2 separate regions of the Homo sapiens genome follow, and region 1 is linked to region 2. The links are contacts of gene promoters, found by promoter capture Hi-C in human tissues and cell types (Jung and others, 2019). All regions are on one chromosome and are shown on one strand. The core of a region is centred on a gene start or on the middle of the fragment in contact, and the rest is flanking DNA. Distances in the headings are between cores, read along the strand shown.

What was found. Contacts are between HindIII fragments. The study calls those that stand out against the background at their distance.
Region 1: a contact is called between a fragment that was not itself captured here and the fragment with the promoter of SLMAP in region 2, in 1 of the 25 tissues and cell types used here (pancreas).

What each region holds. Positions count from the first base shown.
Region 1 is chr3:57,715,014-57,721,392 of GRCh38, forward strand. No RefSeq gene overlaps it. Among named protein-coding and RNA genes, the nearest start is that of DENND6A-DT, 25 kb to the left of the region's middle. The HindIII fragment of the contact is 6,101 bases long and covers 1,997-6,379 here.
Region 2 is chr3:57,752,496-57,758,635 of GRCh38, forward strand. It overlaps SLMAP (sarcolemma associated protein), which reads left to right and starts at 3,814. Exons shown (of 25, transcript NM_001377540.1): 1 at 3,814-3,847; 2 at 4,053-5,354. The coding sequence starts at 5,157. RefSeq lists enhancers at 1-288, 2,920-3,822, 3,412-3,691, 3,722-3,901, 3,823-4,724 and a silencer at 4,272-4,551. The HindIII fragment of the contact is 9,488 bases long and covers 1-6,140 here.

The DNA.
Region 1 (6,379 bases), core at 3,797-6,296, 36 kb before region 2:
CCTAGATAGCTTCAGGATTGGGGCTAGTTTCCAGAAAGACCAAGACATGATTAGAGGCTTGGAACTTTTAGCCCCACTGCCTGATCTGTGGGGAGGGAAGAAGAACCAGAGATCCAATTAATCACCAATGCCAGTGATTTAATCATTCATGCCTACACAATGAAGCATCCATAAAAACCCTAAAGAACAAGGTTCAGAGAGATTCCTGGGTTGGTGAACACATCAAGATGCTTGGAGGGTGGCACTCCCAGGGAAGGCATGGAAGCCCTCCCCACAACCCGTACCTTGCCTTATTCATCTCTTCCATTTGACTGTTTCTGAGTTATATCTTTTATATCTAAAAAAAATATTAATAGGGCTGGGTGCAGTGGCCTACGCCTATAATCCCAGCACTTTGGGAGGCTGAGGTGAGTGGATCATCTGAGGTCAGGAGTTCAAGACCAGCCTGGCCAACATGGCAAAACCCCGTGTCTACTAAAAATACAAAAATTAGCCAGGCGTGATGGTGGGTGCCTGTAATCCCAGCTACTCGGGAGGCTGAGGCAGGAGAATCATCTGAACCCGGGAGGCGGAGGTTGCAGTGAGCTGAGATCGTGCCACTGCACTCCAGCCTAGGCAACAGAGCAAGACTCCGTCTCAAAAAATAAAATAAAATAAAACAAACCATTAATAGTAAATAAAGCATTTTCCTGAGTTATGTGAGCCATTCTAGCAAATCATGAAACATAACGAGGGAGTAATGGGAGCCTCCAGTTTATAGCTGGTTGGTCAAAAGTACAGGTGGCAAGCTGGGACTTACAACTGACATCTGAAGGGGGAGCAGTCTTGTGGGACTGAGCCTATAACTTGTGTGATCTCATGCTCACTCCAGGGAGAGTGTCAGAATTGAACTGAATTGTTGGACACTCAGTTGGTATCTGGAGAGCTGGAGAATTCGTTGGCATGAGAAAAAAACCCACACATGTGGCATCAGAGATATTGTGAGTGAAAATAGTTCAGAGGCTGCCATAACAACATACTACGAACTGGGTGGCTTAAACAACCGAAATTTATTTTCTCACAGTTCTAGAGGTTAGAAGTCCAAGATCAAGGTGCTATCAGAGTTAGATTTCTGGTGAGGCCTTTTTTCCTGGCTTATAGACAGCTGCCTTCTTGCTGTGTCCTTATGTGGCTTTTCTTCTGTATACACACACACACACACACACACACAACACACACACACACACACACACACACAGATTCTCTGTTGTCTCTCTTTTTTTTCATTCAATTTTATTTATTTTTAATTTTTAAAATTTGAGACAGGGTCTTGATCTGTCCCCCAGGCTGGACTGCAGTGGCGCGATCTCAGCTTGCTGCAGCCTTGACCTCCAGGACTCAAGTGATCCCCCACTTCAGCCTCCCGAGCAGCAGGGACTACCGACACACTCTACACACTCAGCTATTTTTTTTTTTTTTTTTTTTTGTAGAGACAGAGTATTACTATGTTGCCCAGGTCTCAAACTTCCAGGCTCAAGCAATCCTCCCACCTTGGCCTCCCAAAGTGTTGGAATTATAGGCATGAGCCACTTTACTTGGCCTCTGTTGTCTCTTCCTCTTCTTCTTTTTTTTTTTTTTCTTTTGAGATGGAGTTTTGCTCTTGTTGCCCAGGCTGGAGTGCAGTGGAGCAATCTCGGCTCACTGCAACCTCCACCTCCCAGGTTCAAGCAATTCTCCTGCCTCAGCCTCCCGACTAGCTGAGATAACAGGTGCCTGCCACCATGCCTGGCTAATTTTTTTTGTATTTTTTAGTAGAGACAGAGTTTCACCATGTTGGCCAGGCTGGTCTCAAACTCCTGACTTCAGATGATCCACCCGCCTCAGCCTCGCAAAGTGCTGGGATTACAGGCGTGAGTCAACGTGCCCTGCCTGTCTCTTCCTCTTCTTATAAGGACAAAAATCCTATTGGATTAAGGCTCAACCCTTATGACCTCATTTAACCTTAATTACCTCACTGAAGGCCCTATCTCCAAATACAGTCACATTGGGGGTTAGAATTTCAACATGAGAATTTGGGATGAGGGACCTAATTCAATCCATAACAGATAGTTAATGGGGGAAGGCCTCTCAGAGGAGGTGACATTTCCACTGAGACCGAAAACACCTACAGGAACTTGTTATGATAGGAGCCAGAGGAAGGTCACTACAGAGCAGAAATGTGTGCAGAGGTGAAATGTACATTTGTCATACTGTTTGAGAATACTGAGTTATGCTGCAGGAAAAAATAAAAAACAAATGGGATAGAGGAAACTCCTAAGATGAGTTAAATATAGATAAGTAATTAGTGGATAGAGCATGTGTGTTTTAAATGTAGATAAAAAGAAATGAAAGAACCAAAAATAATATTCATGAGGCATAAATATGCATGAGGGACCTAGACGCTAAATATTCATGAGAAGTTAAATATATACGAGACATTTAACATTCAGGATACACTAAATATACATGAACACTTAATATTTATGAAGTCTTAATTCAACTACTCATTGGTAATAACTATTCTGGTGCATGTGTCCTCTGCCCAAAAAACACAAACTCATAACCTGAGTAAAACCCATAGTTGTTCGGCAAGTTAATTGGCAAGCGACTGCTGTAGGCCAGGTGTACGTGTTCCTCCTGAGTCCTTCTGGTAGAACAAGTGTATGCCACTGACTCAGGGCACCTTCTGTCTGTGGGCACCTTTGCTTAAACGTCAACTTTGGTCCATCAACAGAGGAGGTTGATGCCAACAGAGAAGGGTCATACCAACATTGCATAACCCAGGATTTATGTAGTGTGAACCTTCTATGTTGTTTGCACCCTTCCCTAATTGTGTGTTAACTTACCCCATTTCTTTCCTTTTGCTTTTTGCTGTATGTTTTAAGTTGTTTTTTTGTTTTTGTTTTTGTTTTTTTTGAGATGGAGTCTCGCTCTGTCACCTAGGCTGGAATACAGTGGCACCATCTCGGGTCACTGCCATCTCTGCATCCCAGGTTCAAGTGATTCTCCTGCCTCAGCCTCCCTAGTAGTTGGGATTACAGGCATGTGCCACCATGCCTGGCTAATTTTTTTTCTGTATTTTTAGTAGAAATGGGGTTTCACCATGTTGGCCAGGCTAGTCTTGAACTCCTGACTTCAAGTGATTCACCCACCTTGGCCCTCCAAAGTGTTGGGATTACAGGCGTGAGCCATCATGCCTGGACTAAGTTGATTTAATAAACTGTATGTGATTCAAGCATTTTAATTTGGTCTGTAAGACCTTGTGTCCTTTGATCTTTGGGATAGCCTGCCTGATAGTGTAATTGAAGTTTACCATTGCATCAGGGTAATTTCCCACACAACAAAAGGCCTTAAAATAGGAAAAGCTCAATAATATGTTCCAGAACTGCAGTAGAATAGCCATTAGCCACATTTGGCTATTTAAATTTATGTTGATTAAAATTAAGAAAAAAATTAAAAATTCATTTGCTCAGGTGCACTAGCCACATTTCAAGTGGTCAATAATTATGTATGGTTGGTGAACACCAACAGACAACTGAACAGTGCAGAAGAACATTCCTATCATCACATAAAGTTCTATATTTTTAGTAGAGATGGGGTTTCACTGTATTAGCCAGGATGGTCTCGATCTCCTGACCTCGTGATCCGCCCGCCTCGGCCTTCCAAAGTTCTGGGATTATAGGTGCATCACATAAAGTTCTATTGGACAATAATGTTCTAGAAACTTAGAGGCCAGTGTGGCTAGAAGGTGATACTGAGGACAGTTGGCAAGAGATGGGTTTGGAGAGGAATGCAATGTCAATGTCATGCAGGGAATTGTGCCCCATGGTAAGAGTTTGAATTTTAGTCTAACATATATAATCTGGTTTATATCTTAAGAAGATTCGCTCTAGTTATTGGCTGAATAATAGGTTGGAAGGTGTGCAGAATATGGTTAATAGTAGGTCCAATAGCAATCCTTTGAAAATCTAGCTTAGGCTGGGCGTGGTGGCTCGTGTCTGTAATCCCAGCACTTTGGGAGGCCGAGGCGGGCAGATCACCTGAGGTCAGGAGTTCAAGACCAGCCTGGCCAACATGGTGAAATTCCGTTTCTACTAAAAATACAAAAATTGGCCAGGCGCGGTGCCTCATGCCTATAATCCCAGCACTTTGGGAGGCCGAAGTGGGCGAATCAGGAGGTCAAGGGTTCGAGAACAGCCTGGCCAACATGGTGAAACCACGTTTCTGCCAAAAATACAAAAAATTAGCTAGGCATAGTGGTGGGGGCCAAAACAAACAAAAATTATTAGCTGGGTGTGGTGGCATGCGCCTATAATCCCAGCTGCTTGGGAGGCTGAGTCAGGAGAATTGCTTGAACTCAGGAGAGGCAAAGCCTGCAGTGAGCTGAGATTGTGCCACTGCACTCCAGCCTGGGCAACAGAGCAAGACTCCATCTCAAAAAAAAAAAAAAAAAAAGAAAGAAAGAAAGAAAAAGAAAATCCAGCTTAGCTGGGGGCAGTGGCTCACACCTGTAATCCCAGCACTTTGGGAGGCTGAGGTGGGAGGATTGCTTGAGTCCAGAAGTTCGAGACCAGCCTAGACAACATGATGAAACCACATCTCTACAAAAAATTTGCCAGGGCTGTGTGTGGTGGCTCATACCTGTAATCCCAGCACTTTTGGAGGCTGAGGCGGGTGGATCACTTGAAGTCAGGAGTTCAAGACAAGCCTGGCCAACATGGTGAAACCCCATCTCTACTAAAAATACAAAAAATAGTTGGGTGTGGTGGCACACACTTGTAATCCCAGTTGCTCAGGAAGCTGAGGTAGGAGAATTGCTTGAACCCAGGAGATGGAGGTTGCAGTGAGCCGAGATTGTGCCACTGCACTCCAGCCTGGGCAACAGAGCAAGACTCTGTTTCAAAAAAAAAAAAAAATTACCCAGGAGTGATAGTGCATGCCTGTAGTCCCAGCTACTCAGGAGGCTGAGGTGGGAGGATTGCTTGAGCCCAGTAGCTCAAGGCAGCTGTGAGCTATGATCATGTCACTGCATTTCAGCCTAGGCAACAGAGTGAGACCCTATCTCAAAACAAAAAAAAAAAACAAAAAGAAAGTCCAACTTACAAGGGTGGTCCTTGGCTGGAACTTGGATCTTGGGAGGGTTTACACCACCCAACTGACAAGAATGGCTCATTGTGTCTAAACTGTATGAATGCTGTGCTTTATGCTTATCTTAGTCTATATGCAGGCTGATAAAACAAAATAGCATAAACCGTTTCTGTTCTTATAAACAACAGAAATTTATTTCTCACAGCTGTGGAGGCTGGGATGTCCAAGATCAAGGCACTGGTAGATTCAGTGACTGGTGAGGGTCTAGTTCATAGAAGGTACCTTCTTACTGAGTCCTCACATGGTAGAAAGATGAGGAGTCTCTCTCAGACCTCTTTTATTAGGGGACTAATCCCACTCTGCTCCCATGACCTAATCACATCCCACAGATCCCACCTCCTAATAACATCACCTTGTGTGTGAAGTTTTCAACATATGAATTTTGGAAGGATGTAAGTATTCAGACCACAGTAATGCTGAACACCTGCTTTCCTTTGCGGAATCAGGGATTTTGGTACATGTGAGGAATCAGGAATTTTGGTACATTTTGCATAGGCAGCGGGTGCCTATGCAACTAGCTCCCATAAAATCCTGGGGTGTGGCCAGGCGCAGTGGCTCACGCCTGTAATCCCAGCACTTTGGGAGGCTGAGACAGGTGGATCACGAGGTCAGAAGATCGAGACCATCCTGGCTAATATGGGGAAACCCCGTCTCTACTAAAAATACAAAAATTAGCCAGGCGTGGTGGCAGGCACCTGTAATCCCAGCTACTCAGGAGGCTGAGGCAGGGGAATCGCTTGAACCCGGGAGGTGGAGGTTGCAGTGAGCTGAGATCGTACCACTGTGCCACTGCACTCCAGCCTGGGTGACAGAGTGAGACTCTGTCTCAAGAAAAAAAAAAAATCCTGGGGTTCTGGGTCTTTAACAAACTTATCTGGTTGGCAACATTTCACTTGTATTGTCACAACCCATTGCTGGGAGAATTTTTTTTTTTTTTTTGAGACAGCCATTTCCCAGGCTGGAGTGCAATGGCGTGATCTTGGCTCACTGCCACCTCTGCCTCCCGGGTTCCAGTGATTCTCCTGTCTCAGCCTCCCAAGTAGCTAGGACTATAGGTGCCTGCCACCACACCCGGCTAATTTATGTATTTTTAGTAGAGACGGGGTTTCGCCATGTCGGCCAGGCTGATTTTGAACTCCTGACCTCAGGTGATCCCCCTGCCTCAGCCTCCCAAAGTGCTGGGATTACAGGTGTGAGCCACTGCTCCTGGCCG
Region 2 (6,140 bases), core at 2,564-5,063:
GCAGTGCCTCTGGAATGTCTGGGCTACTCCACCCTGGGCACCTGGGAAATGACAGGGTATTTCCACTCATTAGAATCTCCCTGATGAAGAGAGCTTTCCTTAGTGGGAAGAGGACCTAACTTCAGTTGTAATAAGCCAGTGTGTGCCACTAAAAATGTTATATACTCTCAATTTTGGGCTTTGAGTACTCCCAGCTTTCTCTTAATTGGTTTGCTTACCTATATTTGCAATCCAGGTACTCTGCTGAAACAGTTATGCAAGTGTTCCATAATTTATTATATACCAAGTGTATGTCATTGGTCAAAGTCCAATTAGATCATTATTAATTAGAAAGGGCTGCTTATTAGTAGAGTTTACAGAGTTGTCTCCTACACATCAGAAATGCTAATAATTGCCCATCTTTGATGGTACTAGGATGATAATTTTACAAGTCTGTCTTTGCTTTTATAAGATTGAAAAGTGGCTTGGATCATAGCAGTGGCAATACTCATCAGACTATAAAAAGGCAGAAACTTAAAAAGGGAGAGAACTACAAAATCAGGAAACATTGCCATTCCCAATTTCTCAAAATATGACATGTTTTTTATTTAATAAAAATTTTGTGTGGATACAGAATCACAGAGAGGAACACCCACATGACTTAGAATTCAAAGTATCTCATGTATGAGATTTCTTAATTTAAGCCTTTTCTGTGCCTGCTGAATACCAGTGGGTGAAGAATGCCTTCAATGCCATTTTGGCATTTCTAGCACCCTGTGTAGCTTGATAGGATTCTTTATCCTGACATGTTATAGTAGTCCCAGCTTTTCTTGTAGAAGAAAGTCCACTCTGCTTAACATTAATTTTAAGAGATATTATAGTAGAACTGAATATAAACAGACTTTTTTTGTTTCCATATGTATGATTAAGTTTCTCTATATACAAACTAGAGATAAAACAACTTGCTCCTTACTATATGTGGAAGGCTGGGGGAATTCTTTCTATGAGCAATAATGATAAATATTAACATTCTGTGAGTGTCTACTATTTCCCAGCCACCATGGTTGGCATTTTGTATTCCATTGTTTTATTTAATCCTAAGAAGACTCTGTAAGGTATTATCTACCTTTTTCCTTCCCCCTTCCCAACCCCTTTTTTTTTTTTTTAAAAAAAAGACTAGTCAAGTGCAGTAGATATATGCTTTTTTTTTTTTCAGATAAGGAAGCTGAAATTTAGGGAAGCTAAATAATTTACCATTTATGGTGCTGGTAAAAGTATGCCATGTCTGATTCCAGCACCTTGACTTTCATTACTTCTCTTTGATCTTCTAGGAGGAAGATGGAAATGTTCTGAAGTCTGGTGCATTGCCTAGAAGTCCTTCAGCAACTGAAACCTCACTTCTGTCACTCTTTCTCCTCGTTTTCCCTTATCTCTTATGCTCTGGTGATACGAACCTACTTGCAATTCCCTTAAAGTCCTGTTCTCTCAAGTCTCTGGACTTTTGTTGGGATTGCTTCTTAGCTTAAAATTTCTTTATCCCAATAGCATCAGACTAGCTGTTCTAATCCTTTCAAGTTTCAGTTTAAACTACTCTGCCATGTTTCCACTACTCTTGACATACTCCATTACAGCAAGGATCTTTCTGTGTCATCACCTAAATCGAGCAACTTGAGGGAGTCTTTTTGTTTCTTCATTATTGTATTTCCAGGACCTTTCAAAATATCTATTTCACAGTATCAATTAAATGTTTATAGAATGAATGTATGAAAGAATGCATAAATGACTTGCTATTCGTGCAAAAAAAACTCATTAGGGATCTGTGGAGGGTCCTATCTTATTTTATTCCTTAACAGCCTAAAAGTTATCAGAAGTGAAAACTTTTCATCCTCTCATAAGAAAGCTTTCCAACATATCCTCATTTTGAATAGCATACCTGGAACACAGTGGTAGCTTGACACATATTTGTTGAATTGATGAAGAGCTTGAAAAACGAATATAACGTCTTTATTATATAATGCCTATTCTTTCCAGACTCACTTTGTGTCCCGCCTACTTTATCCTCTAATAATGAGTAACAGTATGTAATTTTCATTCATGCATCAAATACTTATTTATCCACTATTATGTGCCGGCACATTGGTGCACTGTTTCAAGTAGGCTCCTTCTTTTCCTTGCTATCCGTGTTTGTGGAAATTCATGAAACCATTCAGCGAATACCATATTTATTGTGGTTTTCCTATCTTCCTTCATTCAGTTCAGTTACTTCTCCCAGACCATCCCTGACCCCTTGGGCAGCTAGTGCCTGCCTCTATCTTAGCCCTGATTACATCAATTTCATGTTTGTCACTCCCTACCCTCATTTCTAACCCACAATACCGTTATGATCTCAGAAGGCAGGAATTGAAGTTTGGTTCAGTTATGTGTCCCCAGGGCCCAGCAAAAACCTAGGACACGGCCAAACTGTCTATATAAGTATTGAGATGAATAACTGCTACTTTTTCTTTCTTTCTTTCTTTTTTTTTTTTTTTTTGGAGAGACAGTTTCACTCTTGTTGCCCAGGCTGGACTGCAATGGCGCGATCTTGGCTCACCGCAACCTCCGCCTCCCGGGTTCAAGTGATTCTCCTGCCTCAGCCTCCCAAGTAGCTGGGATTACAGGCATGCGCCACCACGCCCGGCTAATTATGTATTTTTAGTAGAGACGGGGTTTCTCCATGTTGGTCAGGCTGGTCTCAAACTCCCGACCTCAGGTGATCCGCCTGCCTCGGCCCCCCCAAAGTGCTGGGATTACAGGCGTGAGCCACCGCGCCCGGCCTAATTGCTACTCTTTATTGAACAACATGGATTAACATTTTGAAGTCTCACCACATCAAGTGAATTAACTATTATTAACATGTCATCCATGAGAAAAAAGAGGCTTGAAAAAGTTTAGAAACTTGCTTAAGGTCACACAGTGGTGGAGCCTGTTATTGCAGGAATCTGAAGAATGAAGTCACCTTTGATTCTAAATGAGTAAGTCTCCTTCTCACTATTTTTTCTTAAAGTTTTCATTTAGCCCTTGCAAAGTCTTCCTTCTTTAGACCAATGACTCCTCATCTTGATATTGTAAGTGGGGGAAATACCCTCTTTTTTCACTTTGGAAATTATTCAATCTCTCTTTGGAAGAAACATGATTTTAAACTTTCTGGACGCTCCTTCTGTGGAAGAATCCGCGCAGGAGCCCTGGGGGCACATAATAGGTTCAGTGAGAAAGACTGTCATTCGAAATGGAATGCGGGAACTAAGATTTTTTTTTTCCGGGAAGAAAACATAACGAATTTAGCAGAGGGGAGAATGGTCCTTCTGTTAGGTGCACAAATCCTAAGACTTCAGGGAGTTTGGCGGCTCACACTTAAGGTAGCTGCGGGTGACTGTGTTGCCCACAGCTAAGATGGCTGCTAATGACCATCTCCTTTGGCTGGGTCTGTTCTTTTGCTCGCTAGTATTTTCATCGAGAATTAAACAGAATAAAATTTAGTAAAAGTTGGCACCCCCTTGCTAAGTAGATAAAATAAGAAGGTGGCACTGTTTGTTTGAAAAACCTTCTACGGCGCAAATTGTTCTTGCCCTTAACCAAAATGGTCGTTAAGGTTGTCCCGAGGTTTGAAGCTTCCAGCCCTTAACTAAGATGGCGCCTGGAGGCCCGTTAAAAATTACCTTGCCCTTTTTTCTGCCCTCTACCAACACGGCTTCCGTGGCGTCGTTCACGTGACATTCCTGGACTACGGCGCGGGAGAGGGGGTAGGAGGGCCCTTGAAGGGTGCGCGTTCCCGTGGCGGTGCACCGGGTAGGTTTCAGTCAGAGTCACTATGGCGGCCGGCGCTGGCAAGGTAAGCTGAGGCGGTGGTGGCGGCTAGGGAGGTAGGACCCGTCGTGGCGTCCTGGCTCCAAATCCTCGTAGCCTGCTTGCGGAGAGGTCGGCGGAGGTCGTGCCTAGCGGTGTGGGCTGGCGGGGGTCTGGCTGGAGGGGGCGACGGCTGAGGCGGGCGGGCTGAGGCGCCTGACGGCCGTTTGTTTTGATGTTTTCCCCACCAGGTCGGAAAGTTTCCTGCCTCGTCGGGCGCAGCTTGAGCTTGCCCCATCGGCCGCGATCGGTGGAGGCTGCGGCGGATCCAGCCCGGGGCCTCAAGGCCTCTCCCCAACCTCCGGGCCAGTCTCCCTCCCCCACCTTCTCGTCCGCCGGGAGCTGCGGCTGCCGTCCCTGAGATGCGACCCTCGCGGGGGCGACCCTGAGGGGAGGCGGCCCATGTGCTGAGCGGCGGCCCAGAAGCCTAGGCGTCCGGGGACCAACTTCCTGCCGCCTGGGAACTCGAGCCTCCCGGTGTCGCGCCTCGCTCGGTCCGCACCGGCCTGCGGAGCCGGGTCCCCGCCCTGGTCGCGGGGACGCTCGCCAGGTGCCCAGGAGTCCCGACTTGGCCACTGCCCGCGCCCCGCCGGCCTCCACGCCTCGCGCGGAGAACCTCAGCCACCGCCGTCTCGGATCGTGCCAGGCCGGGGACCGCGTCCCCCTTCCCGGGGCGGCCTCCGCTCAGCAGGGGCGATGCAGACTGTCCCGCCGGCCGTCTAGAGCCCCTCCGTCTCCGTCACCTCTCGCCCCTTCACTCCGGGCGAGGACTGGCGGTGGCTGCCCAGAGGTGCCCAGCCACACCTTCCTTCGGCCCAAAAGGACTTTCCTGGCCGCGCCGAACCGACCCTTCATTCATGCTGCAGTGCTGCAACGTTTCCGCCACCAAGGGGGAAAAGCGGCCGCGATCTCAAACCAAACACAAGAATTGGCGTGTGACTCATCTGCTTGGATACCTCCAGTCCCCAAACTGTGTTCCAGGAGTTTTCTTGGCCGAAGCTGCCCGATGTTTGAGCCTTTTCTTCCCAGAGAAGAAGATGGACTGAAAGCTGCCAGTTGGGGACTTTTTGTGATCACGGCGTTGCAGCGTTTTAAAGGAGGTGATGGGGCTTGCGCTGGCTTGTCTTCCCACCCAAGTGAAGAGTTGATGTTCACTGGTTATGCTTAGACAATGTGCAGTTTGTGTTAATTTAAAATTTTGGGTGGGATAGGGGCATAGGCTTGTGAAGGGCAGTCCGGATCCGGAGGAACTCCTCTTTGTCCCTGGTAGGAGAGACACCCCCAGTCTATCCTCGATGCCGTCAGCCTTGGCCATCTTCACTTGCCGCCCGAACTCGCACCCGTTTCAGGAGCGTCATGTCTACCTGGACGAGCCCATCAAAATCGGCCGCTCAGTGGCCCGCTGTCGACCAGCGCAGAATAATGCCACTTTTGATTGCAAAGTGCTATCAAGGAACCACGCTCTCGTCTGGTTTGATCACAAGACGGGCAAGGTAATGTCACCACATTGTCCAGCGGCATTGTTTAACAAACTTTTTTTCCCCTTTTGCCCTCCCTGAGAGGACTAATGTATGCAGGATCCCAGGGTTTGCATCCAGAGGAGGCTTTGCGCAAAGCCACGAATCAACTGTTTGTGTGCCTGGTTCTAGTGGAAATTTGATTGAGGTGGTTGAATGGAAAACAGAGAAGGTATTGTAATTAAAAGCCTCAGGAGGGCTATGGCATCTTGATAACGTGGTCATTCCCAGTGAAATCCCAAACTAGATAGTGAAACTTGGCGTCTTGCTTTTAGTCTGTTTAGAAAGGTGAATTCACAGTTCAGCGCTTTATTAAGCAAGCAGCAGTTCTCGAAGCAATTCGGGGAATCCGTGGCCATTATTATCCCGGGGCTCAAGTGTCTTAGTGGTGAAATGTAGTTAACACATAGCTTTAGGTGAGTTCAGATCAGGACCTTTCTAGTAAGGATAATTGCTGATATAAACCTAAGATTTTTGAAAGGTTTGATACATACTTGCCCTTGGAGGAGTAATTTGCAATAATCAAAGCTAATTTAATTAAGCATGAACAACTGTAACTTTATATATTTTCAGAGTTTTTTTTACAAGTTGGAGAACATACACATATTGCGTTTGAAAATCACTTTTTGATGTTCCCTGCAGCACTTATTAAGTACTTAATGCATACTTACAGAGGTGCTATTCAAAAGTTAGTGTTAGGAAATAAACTTACTTTCTGAAATTATACCCTATTCTGTCAATTATAGCATTACTTAAATGTGA